5 separate regions of the Homo sapiens genome follow, and all the other regions are linked to region 3. The links are contacts of gene promoters, found by promoter capture Hi-C in blood cells and fetal thymus (Javierre and others, 2016). All regions are on one chromosome and are shown on one strand. The core of a region is centred on a gene start or on the middle of the fragment in contact, and the rest is flanking DNA. Distances in the headings are between cores, read along the strand shown.

Region 1 (2,700 bases), core at 198-2,697, 180 kb before region 3:
CCCTCCGCCCCACACCCCGGATCCATGTTCAGTGTGAATGAGTCCAGCCCCAGCCACTCACCTTTGGTGGCCCCAGAGCTTTCCGAAGGAGGCTCCTGCTCCTTCACACCGGCCGCCCCCACCCGCTCTTTCCAGCTTCTCTCAAAAGGGGATTTGGATCCTAATCCTGAAAGACACAATTCCAAATGCCATAATCCTGAATGTCAAAATCCCAAAAGGTCAAAATCCCTGAAGATCAAAATCCCTAAAGTCTAAATCCCGATTGTCTAAAATCCTTAAATTCTAAAATCCCGAAAATCACAGTCACAGGCTATTGCATCGTGTTAGGCAGAACTATGACCTTGCTATTGTCTTTATTTGGAAATTAAGTGTGGCTTCAGGACATGCGTACGGGTGCCAGGTTGACAAGGGTAGATTTGTGGATGAATTTTAGGCGTCCTCTTGCCCGGAGGAAGGACCGGGTGAAGGACTGTGTTGGGTGTGTTTGTGAGGGGTCTCCAGGGGAGACCCGTGTGTGGGTCTGAGTAGGCTGGGTGGAATGCTCTGTCCTCAGTGTTGGCGGGCACCATCCAAGCAGCCAGCGGGTGGGAGAGAACAAATGCCGAAGGCGAATCTCCGAGAGCCGGGACAGCCTTTCCTTCTGCTGCCTTCGACATCAGAATGCCAGGCTCTTAACCTTTAGACTCCAGGACTTAACCAGCATCCCCCCGCCCCGGGGCCTTGAGGCTTTTGGCCTCAGCCTGAGATATAGATCATCGGCTTTCCTGGTTTTCAACACAGAAACATTGAATCCTCCTCAATAGATGAAGAAATGTCCTTTATGTACATCTGCATTTGTGAAATAAAATCTTTCGAGATCTCAGCTATTTGGGTGCCTGCACACGCCGTGACGACCCATTGTGGCTTTTGGTCAATTTCATCAAAAGGCTTAGGTTGTCCGTCATGTAATATTTCAGATGACCACAGTTATGAAGCTGAGTGCACACACTCCCTTGGTGATGTGCGTGTACCTTGTCCCTTTTTGACTCACTTTATGAATACGGTTTGTCTGCTTATAATTGTTATACTCGGTGATGTGCATGTATACTTTCCCTATTTCTTTATGAATAAGCTTTGCCTGCTCATAATTTTTGCACCTCGGTGACCATCATTAGCATACCTGGGTGTTTCTGCTTGCAAAAATATGTATGGTGTTATTGCCTGTTTTATGGTGTAAACTGGCCTGTGAAGTGTTCTGTTGTGCTTTTATATGTTTCTTAAATAAATCTTTTAAAATTGTAAATAAACATCTTTTAAAGACTTTTAAATTATTTTTTCCAGAAGTGATAGCTTTGGGATTTCAACATTCAGGATGAAGGTGTCCAGAATTAAGTCTTTTGGGATGATAACTGGCTCCCCTCTAAATGCCATGCTGGCTACAGCTCTGGGTCTCATGCTGTCCTCCACCCCACACCCCGGCGGCCCGAATGTCCTTCCCCTCCCAACCTCCTGTGTTTTGCCAAATAATTCCTATGAGTCTTAGAAGGACTTCTAATTTTTAAGATGCTCCAGTGGCATTGCCTTCTGCAGGAAGCCCTCCCCGAGCTGCAAAACCCTCTCCGCTCTCACTGCACTAGGTAATGCCACCGCCTGTCTGGGACTTGTCTGTCCCCAGTGTCCCATCTCCTCCAGAACACTAGCTCTGTCCCAAATTGCAGCCCATGAGATTGCCCGAATCTGCCGCTCCCGGGAACCCTGCTGTAGATCAGAAACTTCCACTCAGATGGAGCCCCCAAAACAGAGGAGAAGCTTGCCCAGAACCAGCAGGGTCCTGAAGCTGGATCCTGAAGGAAGGCGGCCAGCCTCCGGGCACCCAGGTTACATGCCCCTCAGCTGCCAGCACCCGCTCTGCTCTCTCTCTCCTTGGAGAACAGGTGCCCTGCCCTGAGGGCATGGAGGTGCCACCTGGGATTTCTGCTCCGGGGCAAAGAGCTCTGAGGCCAAAGCTGCTCAGCCAGCTGCCTTTTCTCCCAGATTCTGCTCAGGCACAGCTGCCCTCACCGTGTCTTTGGTGAAAGTTGTCAGGGTAAAAATGGAGTCACTTGTGTTTAAAACCCTGACAAACAGAGCCAGAGAAGGCTACAAAGGGAGGGTTCTCGTGCATGAATGCCTGATACCAAGAACTATCATAAAAGTCTCTTTAAAAACCACCACTTTGCACAAAGGCCATTGCAACCTTACACAGAAAACCGCTCCTGGAGGACATCGGCCCAGCAGCTGCCTGTCCAGCCTTGGATTGGTGCCACCCTTGTTCCTGATTCTAGCAGCCAAGGATACTTATCTTAAAATGATGACCTAATCCTCTTCATTTTCCTTTAAAAACCTTTGCCTTCCTTGACCTCCCTGGACGCACATGCAGTTTACCACGGCACACATATTTCCACGTAGCGCCCGTTCCCAAATGAACCTCATTTTTTGTAGAAAGCCTCTTCCAGTTTGTTAGGTTGACACGTCACATCCACGGCAGGGAGCCATGCAGCTCTTAGGGTCCCCGTGCTCTCAGCTCACTCACTGCAGACTCGCAACATTTTACTTTTCATTGCATGTTCTCACTGGGAGGACCTGGGGTGGACCCCAGTGGCGTCAGGATTGGATCCATCTGGAAATCCCTCAGGTGCTTGGACAAGTGGGTCCCCGATTCTAGGAGCCTAAGAAGAGGAC
Region 2 (2,700 bases), core at 148-2,647, 130 kb before region 3:
TCTCGCTAAATTTTAAGTGTACTTGGTACACTCACAGCGACCAAAAAGTATTTTCAATGATCTTTTTGTGGTATTCATGAAATAAAAAAACCAAACGTATCAACTTCCCAGCGACAGCCAGGCACATAATCCATCAGAGCCATCATAACCAGTACTAACAGGTTTCCACATCAGCAGTCTCAGAAGAAAAGTTAATTGGTTGACAAAACTGAGAATCAGTTTTACTACCTTTAGGCTATTCAGTATCAAAAAAGTCTTGAAAGAGCACCAAGGAAAATCTTTTGTTACTCATTGACCTTACTAATACCAATATAAATTTCTTTAACTTCAACATGGTGGCTTCCATTGTTTATATTTATATGTACTTTTGATCTGGGTTTGAGTCTGTTTAAAAGATTCACGTTAAAATCTTTATTGGCCAGACACAGTGGATCATGCCTGTGATCCCAGAGCTTTGGGAGGCTGAGGCAGGAGGATCACTTGAGGCCAGGAGTTCAAGACCAACCTGGGCAACATAGCAAGACCCCACCTCCACACACACAAAAATAAAATTAGCCAGGAGTGGTGGCATGCACCTGTAGTCGTAGCTATTTGGAAGGCTGAGGGGTGGAAGGATTGCTTGAGCCCAGGAGTTTGAAGCTGCAGTGAGCTATGATTGCACTGATTGCAACAGAACAAGACCCTGTCTCTAATAAAAATAAATACATTTAAAAAGCTTTATATTTATATGAGTTGGTTAGCACTATTATATGTAAGAACCAATAAAACTACTACTTAGTCTTTGAAAAATTCATAAAAATTATTATTTTACTAGTAAACTTTAAAGTAGAAAGCATAATTATATAATAGAGGATTTAGTAACTGAGAGCCAATAACCTGAAATCTCAACTGGCTTTATCCTTTATTACCCAGTCTAAACAATACTGCAATCTTCTTAAGGTTTTTTATATCTTTATAATATAAAATATATATAATATAAAAAAGACAAGATCCCCTGCCCCTTTTGTGCAATCAGTACACAGCCCTTTTTAAAGGGGCACACATACACCCGTGTGTATGTGGGGGTGTGTGTATACACCAATACACATAATAACCAATTCTTTTTCATATAATCTCTTAATAAGTAACCTACATGTCTAACAGAAAGCACTTACTTCACACTAGTTCCTTCTAATTTGGTCTGCACCAAAATTGCTCAGATCTTATATTCAACCAAGGACTCAGAACCCACGGTGATGAATTATCTATTAGCCCTTTAATAAAAGGGGGACTTTCCCAACTAAGAAGTATGTGTATGGCATGTACATTTTAATATCAATGATGAAGAGTGAAAGGAGGGAACAAAAAAAGGAGACAGAAAGCAGAGAAAAGTAAAATAATGCTTCAAAAGAGGTTTTTTGTTGTGTGTGTGTGTGTGTGTGTGTGTGTGTGTGTTTGGCAGACTCACCCCGTGTGGTTGTCTTGAGGATTTTATCATCCATCTGAATGCTGGATTGTGCTGGTTTCTGGTAGGCCTTGTTGATTACAATCTCCTTCACTCGGTCAAATATTTTGAATGAGGGAGAGAGACAGAGTGTTTCTACAGAGGCCTGGTTATGGAAAGTAGAATCTGACTTTGATACCCTTAAGTCGGGGCTGATAAACTCCTCTTTACTTGACCAACATGCTGGTAAAATTGTCAATGTTTTAAGACCTTCTGCAGCTGATTGCTTTTCTAAAGGTGTTTCCAAGAGGTTTTCTGTGACAGTATTTGTAAAGATACCATCTGATCTCTTGTCCAAACTCACATCTCTCTGCCCAGAAGGACTATTTTCTGAGAGAGTAGGCACAGCATCTATAAAAGAACAAATAAGAGCTATAATCAAAAAATAAAACTGAAAATACTCTATTTCAAATCTGTTATAATTTTAATAAATAGGATTTTTTAATGTCATAACAGAATTCTTTCCTATTTAGCCCTCTGCTTTCTTACTATGCTTCTATATTCTGCCTATTTAAAGTACACCCAAGCTATAATTGACGCCTTAGTCATTTTGGTAGCTGCCTTCTCCCTCTCTCCTCACTGAAGCACAAAGCAAGGAAAGCTTCAAATAACTTGTCTTTAAATATTTCTCCCTTCACCCACTTATCTGTCGCTGAAACCACCATATTTTTAGTACTTTCCAACTTTCATCTTTTTTACAAGATAAACTAGGGAAAATATGCCACATCATACTGGTCTATCCTTACAGAACCCTCAGCTACAAAAAAAAAAAAAAAAAAAAAAAAAAAAAAGAAAGAAAAAGAAAAGCTTTCTCCCCAAAAATAAAGAATGTCTTCTTCCACACAGTTTCTATATGCAAGGCACATTAAAGAAACTCAGTACTTTAGGTAGAAGCTTAATTTTAATAAATGCTTTGTCTATACGGAAGAAAGGAAACAATCTTTCAGAGCTGTTCTGACAATTAGTAAAATATAAGTTCCACTGGGCTGGAGATCTTTGTCCATTCTAGTGGTTAATATCACCAAAGTACATAAAATAGTCCCTAGAATATAACAAACAATATTTATTACAAATAGAAAACACTGAAGGAATTGTAAGAAACTGAAACTGAAGGTGGGCCTGATCCAGGAATGTCTATTGAATCTACGCATTATAGACCTGGTCCGAGTTTCTAGATGCAAATTCTTAGGAACACCCTCAGCGCCAGGGCTTGCTCT
Region 3 (2,700 bases), core at 3-2,502:
CAATAAAAACATGTAAATATTTGGAATAAAGACTACAAATGGCCTCAGGCCAAGTTTTACCACCAAATGAGTTGGAGGAAAAGTTGATTTCCAAAAGTTTTTGGATTTCAGGATTGAGAATAAGGAACAGAGGAGCTGAACTGACTTTATCCAAAGACTTGGGACAATAATGACAATAGCATCTAAGAGGCTGAGTGTCCAGAGCTATCTCTGAAAAGATGCATTTAAGGTGGAACTATGAGAAAAGAACAGCTCTTGTGTTTGTACAGGTTCTGCCTATAGACATGAGTTTGACTCGTAAGGAAATGAGCTCTGGCCAAGAATGCTACGGGAAAATGGTTATAGAGACTACCATGCCATTAGGAGGTGTTACTGTTTTGATGAAAAGAATACTGTCAGAGGCAGAGAATCTAATCTTTTCCAGCCCTAAGTGTGTGTTCATTAATTTATTCAACTAATAATCTTCCAGAGCTTACCATGTGGCAGGCTCCATTCTAGGAAATGGAGAAACAGGTGCACAAGACACAGTCCTCACACCCTGGAGTAAACAGCTACTCTTCATTGAACGCTCACAATGTGCTCACACCTGGGCCTTCACATGCCTCATCTCTCTCCTTTAATTAGGATTCAAAGCCATGATTTGAGGTCCTGCTTTGCCATTTCCTAACTAAGACTTAACAACTTCTCTAAGTCTCAGTTCCCTCATCCGCAACACAAAGAATAATCGCCAGACAGGGCCGTGGGGGAGGAAGAAACGAGATGCTTTGGAAAGAATTTTGAAAATGGCGGGTGGAGGCTGAGCAAGAATCAACTTTCTGTGGGCAGGGCCTTTCCTCGGCATCCTCGTCTTCATTCATACAACCCCCACTTCAGATGACGACTGTGTACCAGATGAGCCAGGTGCTGGGCGTTCGGCCACACAGAGAATCAGACCAGCAATTACCCTAGGAGAACCGGCAGTGGAGGGGAAGGCTGGACCTCAGGAAAGCCTCTAGAAGGAGAGAGGGACGTGATGGCGTCACGTCACGCCACAGGGATTTCACCTCCTGCGGATGGTAATGGCCTCGCCGCCCTCCCGCCCCCACCTGGACTCCGACGGTGCCGGCAAGAAACGGGAGGAGGGAAGGCAACCGATGTTTCCAGACCCGCCTTGAGCCCCACCACCACTCCCAAGCAGAGGCTGTTACCTGAGAGGAAAGTCGGCCGCTGCCCAACGACCAAACTTCCTCTCCCCAGGATATTCCACCTACTCCAGCCAGGCTCAAGGGCCCAGGCCGGTCCCCACTTCCGCTTCCTCACTTTCTGGCCTGGTGCAGTTCCTGTCAGGGCGTCAAGCAAGATGGTTGCAGATACCTGAGCTGGAGGGTACCAAGGGGAATGAAGGTAAGTGTCTTCGTTTCACAGGCTGCCGGGCTGTGACACTGCCCTAATCCTCCTTTCAAAGAATAAATTTTTTTTTTTTTTTGAGATCTGGGAAATAGTTTAATCAGACACTAGCATTTATTCTTAGCTGCTTTCTTAATTAAATAAAAATGAGTATAAATTAATTTACTAAATGTTCACAACGTAAAAACGGACATTAAAAAAAGAAAAAAAATGCCAAGGTAAGCTGATAATGTTTTTAAAAAGTAGACAATAAAATAATGTATGTAACTTAAAATTTGCCATGATAATTTATTCTTAAAATGGAAAATCAGTAAAATACTCAGACTTCTAGCATAATATCTCTTTTTTTTTATTTATTATTATTTAAGTTTTAAGGACATGGATGAAATTGGAAATCATCATTCTCAGTAAACTATCGCAAGAACAAAAAACCAAACACCGCATATTCTCACTCATAGGTGGGAATTGAACAATGAGAACACATGGACACAGGAAGGGGAACATCACACTCTGGGGACTGTTGTGGGGTGGGGGGAGGGGGGAGGGATAGCATTGGGAGATATACCTAATGCTAGATGACGAGTTAGTGGGTGCAGCGCACCAGCATGGCACATGAATACATTTTTAAAAGTGTGTTACTACTGTCATTTCAACTGACTAGAAATACCACCAGCACGTGATTGCCACCTCAAAGGACTGAGAATGTAATAGTAGTCTATGAAGAGCAGTGTGTGTGATGGACAATGATGGGGTAGCTCCAGTGACTGATGGCTTCAGGTGCCACTGACGGGTAATTGTTGATGTATTCAACTGATTTTCCGTGAGCACCCACTTTGTGCCAGACAGTAAGGACTCGGAGATAAAAAGCAGCCCTCTGCTGGATACGTTTACAGGCTAGTGGAGGTGACAGGCACCGTCAGAGAAGATTGTAACAAGATATGTATGGCATAGTAAGAGAGAAGAGATCATCTAATTCTGCCACTGAGTATTTAAGGGCAGGTTTCACAGAAGAGTTTACATCTGAATTGAATCTTAAAGGATGACAGGGAGTTCACTGGATAGACAAAGTAGAGGAGGACGTAAGAGGCAAAGGACACATCATGTGTAAAGGCATGAAAGCTGAGCCAGCCTATTATCTTGGAAAAACTACATGTACTGTAGTTACTACAACTGTCACAAAGGCTATTAGTGGAGCAGCAGAGGAAGGTTAAATAACAGAGGGAAGTTGGATCATGAAGAACCTTATCCATACTACAAGGTGATTTTATCCAGTAGGCATTGAAAAATGTAATCGAACCTGTGTTTTAATGGAAT
Region 4 (2,700 bases), core at 16-2,515, 150 kb before region 3:
TATTTTTAGTAGAGACGGGATTTCACCATCTTGCCCAGGCTGGTCTTGAACTCCTGACCTCGTGATCCACCTGCCTCGGCCTCCCAAAGTGCTGGGATTACAGATGTAAGCTGCCACACCAGGTCTCTCTAACAGTGGTTTTTAAGAACCTATGTCATCTGTCATCTTTGCTCCATGACCTTGAACTCCGTCTACTCTCCCCTTTGCTCACTTCACTCCAGCCACACCAGCTTTCTTGCCATTCTTCAACCACGCCAAATTCCTCCAGCTTTAAGGTCTTTTCACTGACAATTCCTTTATCACTTAATCCAGTCTGCATGATGAAAACCAGTTTCAATTTGTCTGGGAGCAGGACCCTGGCATTAGTATATTTTTAAAATGTTTCGTATGTCTTCAAAATAATCAGGATTATTTTAGCCTCGAGTTGGTAATTGTTGAAACTGAGTGATGGGCACATGGAGCCCATTACACGATTCTCTCAGACAAATATAAAACAAAAGAAAAGCTTCTGTGGTGATTCCAGTGTGCAGCAGGGTTGGGAATCACTGGCCTGTAATCCCCAAACCGGACTGTTTTGCCCATAAATAACAGACATTTCTATTTGAAAGGCTGTCTTAATGAATTAAAAAGATACACAGAAGATGAAAAATATCAAATTTATTTTCTGAAGTAGAATAAAAGGATGCATTTGAATTCACCTTGCAATATACATTGACAGTAAAAACATTTGCCCCATGTCCTTCTTGTTTCCATTTAACTCCTAACACTAGCATCTGGAAGAAAGAAAAGATTTCTGGCCCTTGGTTGCAGAACCTAAAACTTGCAAAAGAATGTGTGAAATGTATACCCCCAAACTCAATCCTCCTAGGTCACCTCAGAGGCTTGTTAACAAGCTCCATACAGTTGAAAGATAAAGAGCTTCTTCCTGCCTCCTTATCCAAAAGCTCTTGAATAGTCATTTGCAGTTTGAGGTCTTACCACAATTTTCACTAATGCTTAACCCATTTGAGGTACAGAGCATGAAAGAATGAAATTCTCTTCTGTTTCAAATGAACTAATATCTAAATCTGAAATTATCAAAGGTGACATCTTTCCCTTTTAAAAAATAAACCACCCAAATGAAAGTATTAGTTTGAAAGATACTTGCTAATAAACCTGACAAGGAAAAATTAAACCATCCCCTTTTTTGCCATAATAATATGAATTTATACAATGCTAACGTAAGTCTTGGGGAAGTGGAACCACACGAGTTCTATCAAAAATAGATATTGTGATGATTAGATCTGATCTGAGCTCCCCTCAGAAGACTGGGGGACCTGGGAAGACTGGCTTATTTGTGAACTATTCAGACTCATGCTCATCAAGATGTTATTGATGACATTAAGTTCTTGGATCACTGTGCTCAGATCTTCATGTAATCTAGCGATCGCACGTTTTACCTCCCTTAAAAGAACACTAATGGAATTCTTTGCTTCAGGTTCCTGGGGGAAGTCTTTGGTTGACTGAAAACCAGAACAGGACAGAGGGATGAACTGGTCTACATTTTGGGTGGAAAACTCCCCCCAGTGACTACTAGAAATGTGACTTATATTCTTTTTAGCAGAATCAGAGTTATTTGGAAGAATTCCCAGTAGATTGAGGCTATCATTTTCCTCTACATCAGAAGACACTGGGCCCCTAGAAGCAAAGGAGTGATGCAGCTTGGCTGTCTTATCTTCATCTTTAAAGGAGGTAGAAGACAACTGTTGATGGGACAGAGTCCAGAAGGAAGGTCCGGCCAGAATTGGTGATAAGAGATGAGCTGACTTCTCTGGAGAGGCTAAATCAGGAGATGACATGGATAAAGGAGAAAAGGAAGATGCTCCCTCAGAAGCAGTTGAAACTAAAATGTGTAAATGAGAGAAAAAAGATTTATGCAACATACAAATGAGAGTAATAGCTAAAATAATTTTATAATGTAAAAGCCTATCTGGAAGGGCTCAACATAAATAAACTGCTTAGAATTTTAAATGTTAACTATTCATAATAAGCTTAAAAAAACCCAAAGCAGGAAACTAAGAAAATCTACAGATGTATTATATATCAATAATACCATGGAAATGAAACTAAAATAGAATTATCAATATTCATCTTGACTCATCTTGACTCAAACCCTGCCCAACATATTTTTACACTAAACTTAATCAGAGAGAGTAGAAAAGTATTAAACCCCATTCTACTGACTGCCAGCATTTTAAGTTGGTATTTAAAGTAGAAAGTGAGAAACCTGTAACAGATTCCTTCAACTTTTTAATTTTTTTTCCTGTAGAGATTATTATGGCAAAATGAACTACCAACTACAAGTACCCAAAAGTTAGTGAAATAAATATTTTTCTGTCTATAGTGAAATATAATCAAGACTGAAGTCCAACACATCTGAAATCTAGAATACTTTAGCACACGTATATAATCATTTTTTTTCTCACCAAGAAACTAAGTGAAGTAAAAAGCATTCTAAGCCTTTTTTTCCATAAAATTACATATTTGGGAAAGTTTTTACTTCCTTTCTGGCAAAATCATATTAAATCTCCCACACTTTATTCTAAATCATTTCCCAAACTTTTCTGAGAAACACTGTGTTCCTTCAGATGTTAGAAGATGTTTTGTAAAAACAGGCTTCATAGTCAATACACCTGGGCAGTTGCATACTGTGCCTCCCAA
Region 5 (2,700 bases), core at 178-2,677, 220 kb before region 3:
GAGTCTGGAAGGGAACGGTCAGAGGGAAGGTGGGTCAGGGAGGCAGGATTTGGACCGTGGCTTGCACATGGGTGGCAATGACTGTGATGTGTTAAATATTGACTCTTTGCAAGGCACGCTACATATATGAACTCTTTAATCCTCGCAGCAATCCTAAGGCTGGCAGGGGGAATCCTTTGTCTGGATTTTATAGGTGAAGAGCCTGAGGCTTAGAGAGGTTAAATATGCTGCCCAAATTACTCAGCCATAGGTAGTGGAACCAGGTCTGGAACTTAGATTTGCATTCAAAGCCTACCATGTAGCCTCCTTTACTACCTGGGTATATGGAGACGAGGCAAAAGGGTGGAAGGACCATTTCAGGCAAACACTGGGGGTGGGTGAGGATGACCATTTCCCAGCTTGTTGCAGACCAGGTATGTGAGGGGCATGTGAGGAGCAAGTGCATTCTAAAAACCCTGATGGAGTTGGAGGGGAAGAAGAGGGAAGCAGAGCCGCCAGGTGTGAAATTAATACCTTATTTCAAATGATGGGAGAGGAATATTATGAATGCAGAAAAAAGAAAGATAACCATTGGCAGAATGAAACAATAATTATACAACTTCCAAATTAACAGGAAAAATGGAATATTAATAGCTTACATTTACCAAGTATTATTCTGTTTCCAGCACCGAACTATCAGCTCATTTAATTTGCATACCAGCTTTCTAAGATGAAATGACTTACTCAAGATCATAAGGTGAATATGGAGTGAGCACTAAGCCAGGATTCAAATGTAGGCAGTCTGGCTCAGTAGCTCTTCATTAATACCCTATATTGCCTCCAAAGGTACCAACTCGACCAGATACACATAAATAAGAAAAAGGGAACAGAAGGAATAGCAGCATAAAATAAATAGTACACACTAAGATGGAAAGAATAAAAGCAGCATATAAATAATTACACTAAAAGTAAATGGACTAAATTCTCTCCTTAAAAGGCAGAGACTTTCTGAGTGGAGGAAGGTTGTGGAGCAGGTCATGTGCCCTGGATCATGCTTCTCTTTGTTCCTCCATAGTCCCTGGAGACAGCCCTCAAGTACTGCAACTATATGTTCACCACTGTCTTTGTGCTGGAGGCTGTGCTGAAGCTGGTGGCATTTGGTCTGAGGCGCTTCTTCAAGGACCGGTGAGTGGCCAGGCTGGATTAGGGCAGTAATAGGGTAGACTGCAGGATGAAGAAGCAGTCCTGACCCTTAGGGAAGTCTGGAGCAGCCTGAAGAGGGGAACCAGTAAGCATCTAGGCACGGATGGACAGGCACCCCAGCTGCTGCTTATAGCTCTGAACAGGAAATAATTATGGTATCATCTGATGGGCGTAGGGCATTCTACCTGGCCCTTCTTGGCTCATCTTTGGTACGTTGTCTCTACCCTATGGGCAGAGCAGGGTCTGCCTCATGCTAATACTCCTTTTTGAAGGGAATAGTGAGGCTCAAAGAAGTTGATGGACTAGCCTAAGGCCAGACAGAGAGAGCAGCCAGCTCAAGATTAGACTTGGAAGTCATAGTCCATGCCTCCTCTCCTGCAGGAGGCCAGAGATATTTATTTAGCCTGATCAGCCCCTTGCTTGACGGAGTGATGGCTATGGGGAGCAGAGAGGGGCCTGGACCCAGTGGCGTTAGGAGGGGCTAGTAAGGGAGGGCAGCCACACAGCCTAATGGGCCACAATAGAAGGGTCAGGACCTGGGAGGCTCCCCCCACTAAGGTGTGTCTGAACCAGAGGGATCCTCCTCATGCCCACTCCTGCCCTCCCATGCACGGCTGAGCAGATGGAACCAGCTGGACCTGGCCATTGTGCTACTGTCAGTCATGGGCATCACCCTGGAGGAGATCGAGATCAATGCGGCCCTGCCCATCAATCCCACCATCATCCGCATCATGAGGGTTCTGCGCATTGCCCGAGGTGAGGGGCAAGGGGTGGGACAGGGAACGGGGACAAGCAGGGGCGGGATGAGACTCCTCATTGCCTGATGAGAACACACAGGAGTGGGGTGGGGAGGGGTGGGGGCAGGAGTTTGCAGGCATGGTGGGCTCCTTGCTGAACAGGGGTGAGAAGGAGCTGGGAGGCACACAGCCAACACACACGCATGCACCCTCTGTGTGCACACACCTCCCCCAACACACAGGCAACTTTGCATAGCACACATGGACACACACTCCCACTTCCTTATGACGCCATGACCCATGGGGTCCAGTCTCAGAGTGTGATGCAAGGAACCCAGTCCAACTGGGAAGATGTGAAACACCTCCAGTTCCTCGCTGGCATTTCTCAAACACAGTGACTGGGACGCACGGTCTTCAGAGATCCTTCTCCCTCCCCTCAAGGTAGTTCGTACACTTCTTTTAAAAGCCTCCTGCCTCAGGGCGAGCCCAGGTGCCTCTTGCTCTTCTGCCTGCCAGAAACTCAGCGAGTGATGCCAGAGTCCTCTTTATCGAGAGGGGAAGAGAAGAGATGTGGCCACTCACGCTGGTCCTTTGTGCCCGTGACAGTTCATGGCCCACCCATTCACACACTTCATAGACCTCAGTTTCCATGAGTATGCCCCGTCCTCGGGGGCTTTTCTACAGTGACACCCACGCCTTGTGTCCACATGTTTTTGTGCATGCCCCACTCACCCTGTGGCTGCACCCACATTCTTGTAATGTGGTATCTGAGAGCCAGACT

What was found. The method cuts DNA at HindIII sites, captures the fragments that hold promoters and counts their contacts. A CHiCAGO score of 5 or more calls a contact.
Region 1: a contact is called between a fragment that was not itself captured here and the fragment with the promoter of ENTHD1 in region 3, in 3 of 17 cell types (activated CD4 T cells, megakaryocytes and naive CD4 T cells). The highest score is 5.4, in activated CD4 T cells.
Region 2: a contact is called between a fragment that was not itself captured here and the fragment with the promoter of ENTHD1 in region 3, in 1 of 17 cell types (megakaryocytes). The highest score is 9.3, in megakaryocytes.
Region 4: a contact is called between a fragment that was not itself captured here and the fragment with the promoter of ENTHD1 in region 3, in 4 of 17 cell types (megakaryocytes, naive CD4 T cells, activated CD4 T cells and 1 more). The highest score is 7.2, in megakaryocytes.
Region 5: a contact is called between a fragment that was not itself captured here and the fragment with the promoter of ENTHD1 in region 3, in 1 of 17 cell types (naive CD4 T cells). The highest score is 5.9, in naive CD4 T cells.

Annotation. Positions count from the first base shown.
Region 1 is chr22:39,708,643-39,711,342 of GRCh38, forward strand. No RefSeq gene overlaps it. Among named protein-coding and RNA genes, the nearest start is that of CACNA1I, 140 kb to the left of the region's middle. The HindIII fragment of the contact is 677 bases long and covers 1,110-1,786 here.
Region 2 is chr22:39,763,776-39,766,475 of GRCh38, forward strand. It overlaps ENTHD1 (ENTH domain containing 1), which reads right to left. Exons shown (of 7, transcript NM_152512.4): 6 at 1,448-1,834. Among named protein-coding and RNA genes, the nearest start is that of ENTHD1, 130 kb to the right of the region's middle. The HindIII fragment of the contact is 1,369 bases long and covers 714-2,082 here.
Region 3 is chr22:39,892,508-39,895,207 of GRCh38, forward strand. ENTHD1 (ENTH domain containing 1) reads right to left here and starts at 1,253. Exons shown (of 7, transcript NM_152512.4): 1 at 1,188-1,253. It also overlaps a transcript of GRAP2 not described here. The HindIII fragment of the contact is 18,515 bases long and covers 1-2,700 here.
Region 4 is chr22:39,742,402-39,745,101 of GRCh38, forward strand. ENTHD1 (ENTH domain containing 1) reads right to left here. Exons shown (of 7, transcript NM_152512.4): 7 at 643-1,882. The coding sequence ends at 1,278. Among named protein-coding and RNA genes, the nearest start is that of ENTHD1, 150 kb to the right of the region's middle. The HindIII fragment of the contact is 1,525 bases long and covers 504-2,028 here.
Region 5 is chr22:39,671,145-39,673,844 of GRCh38, forward strand. CACNA1I (calcium voltage-gated channel subunit alpha1 I) reads left to right here. Exons shown (of 37, transcript NM_021096.4): 27 at 1,055-1,164; 28 at 1,805-1,938. Among named protein-coding and RNA genes, the nearest start is that of CACNA1I, 100 kb to the left of the region's middle. The HindIII fragment of the contact is 2,897 bases long and covers 1-2,700 here.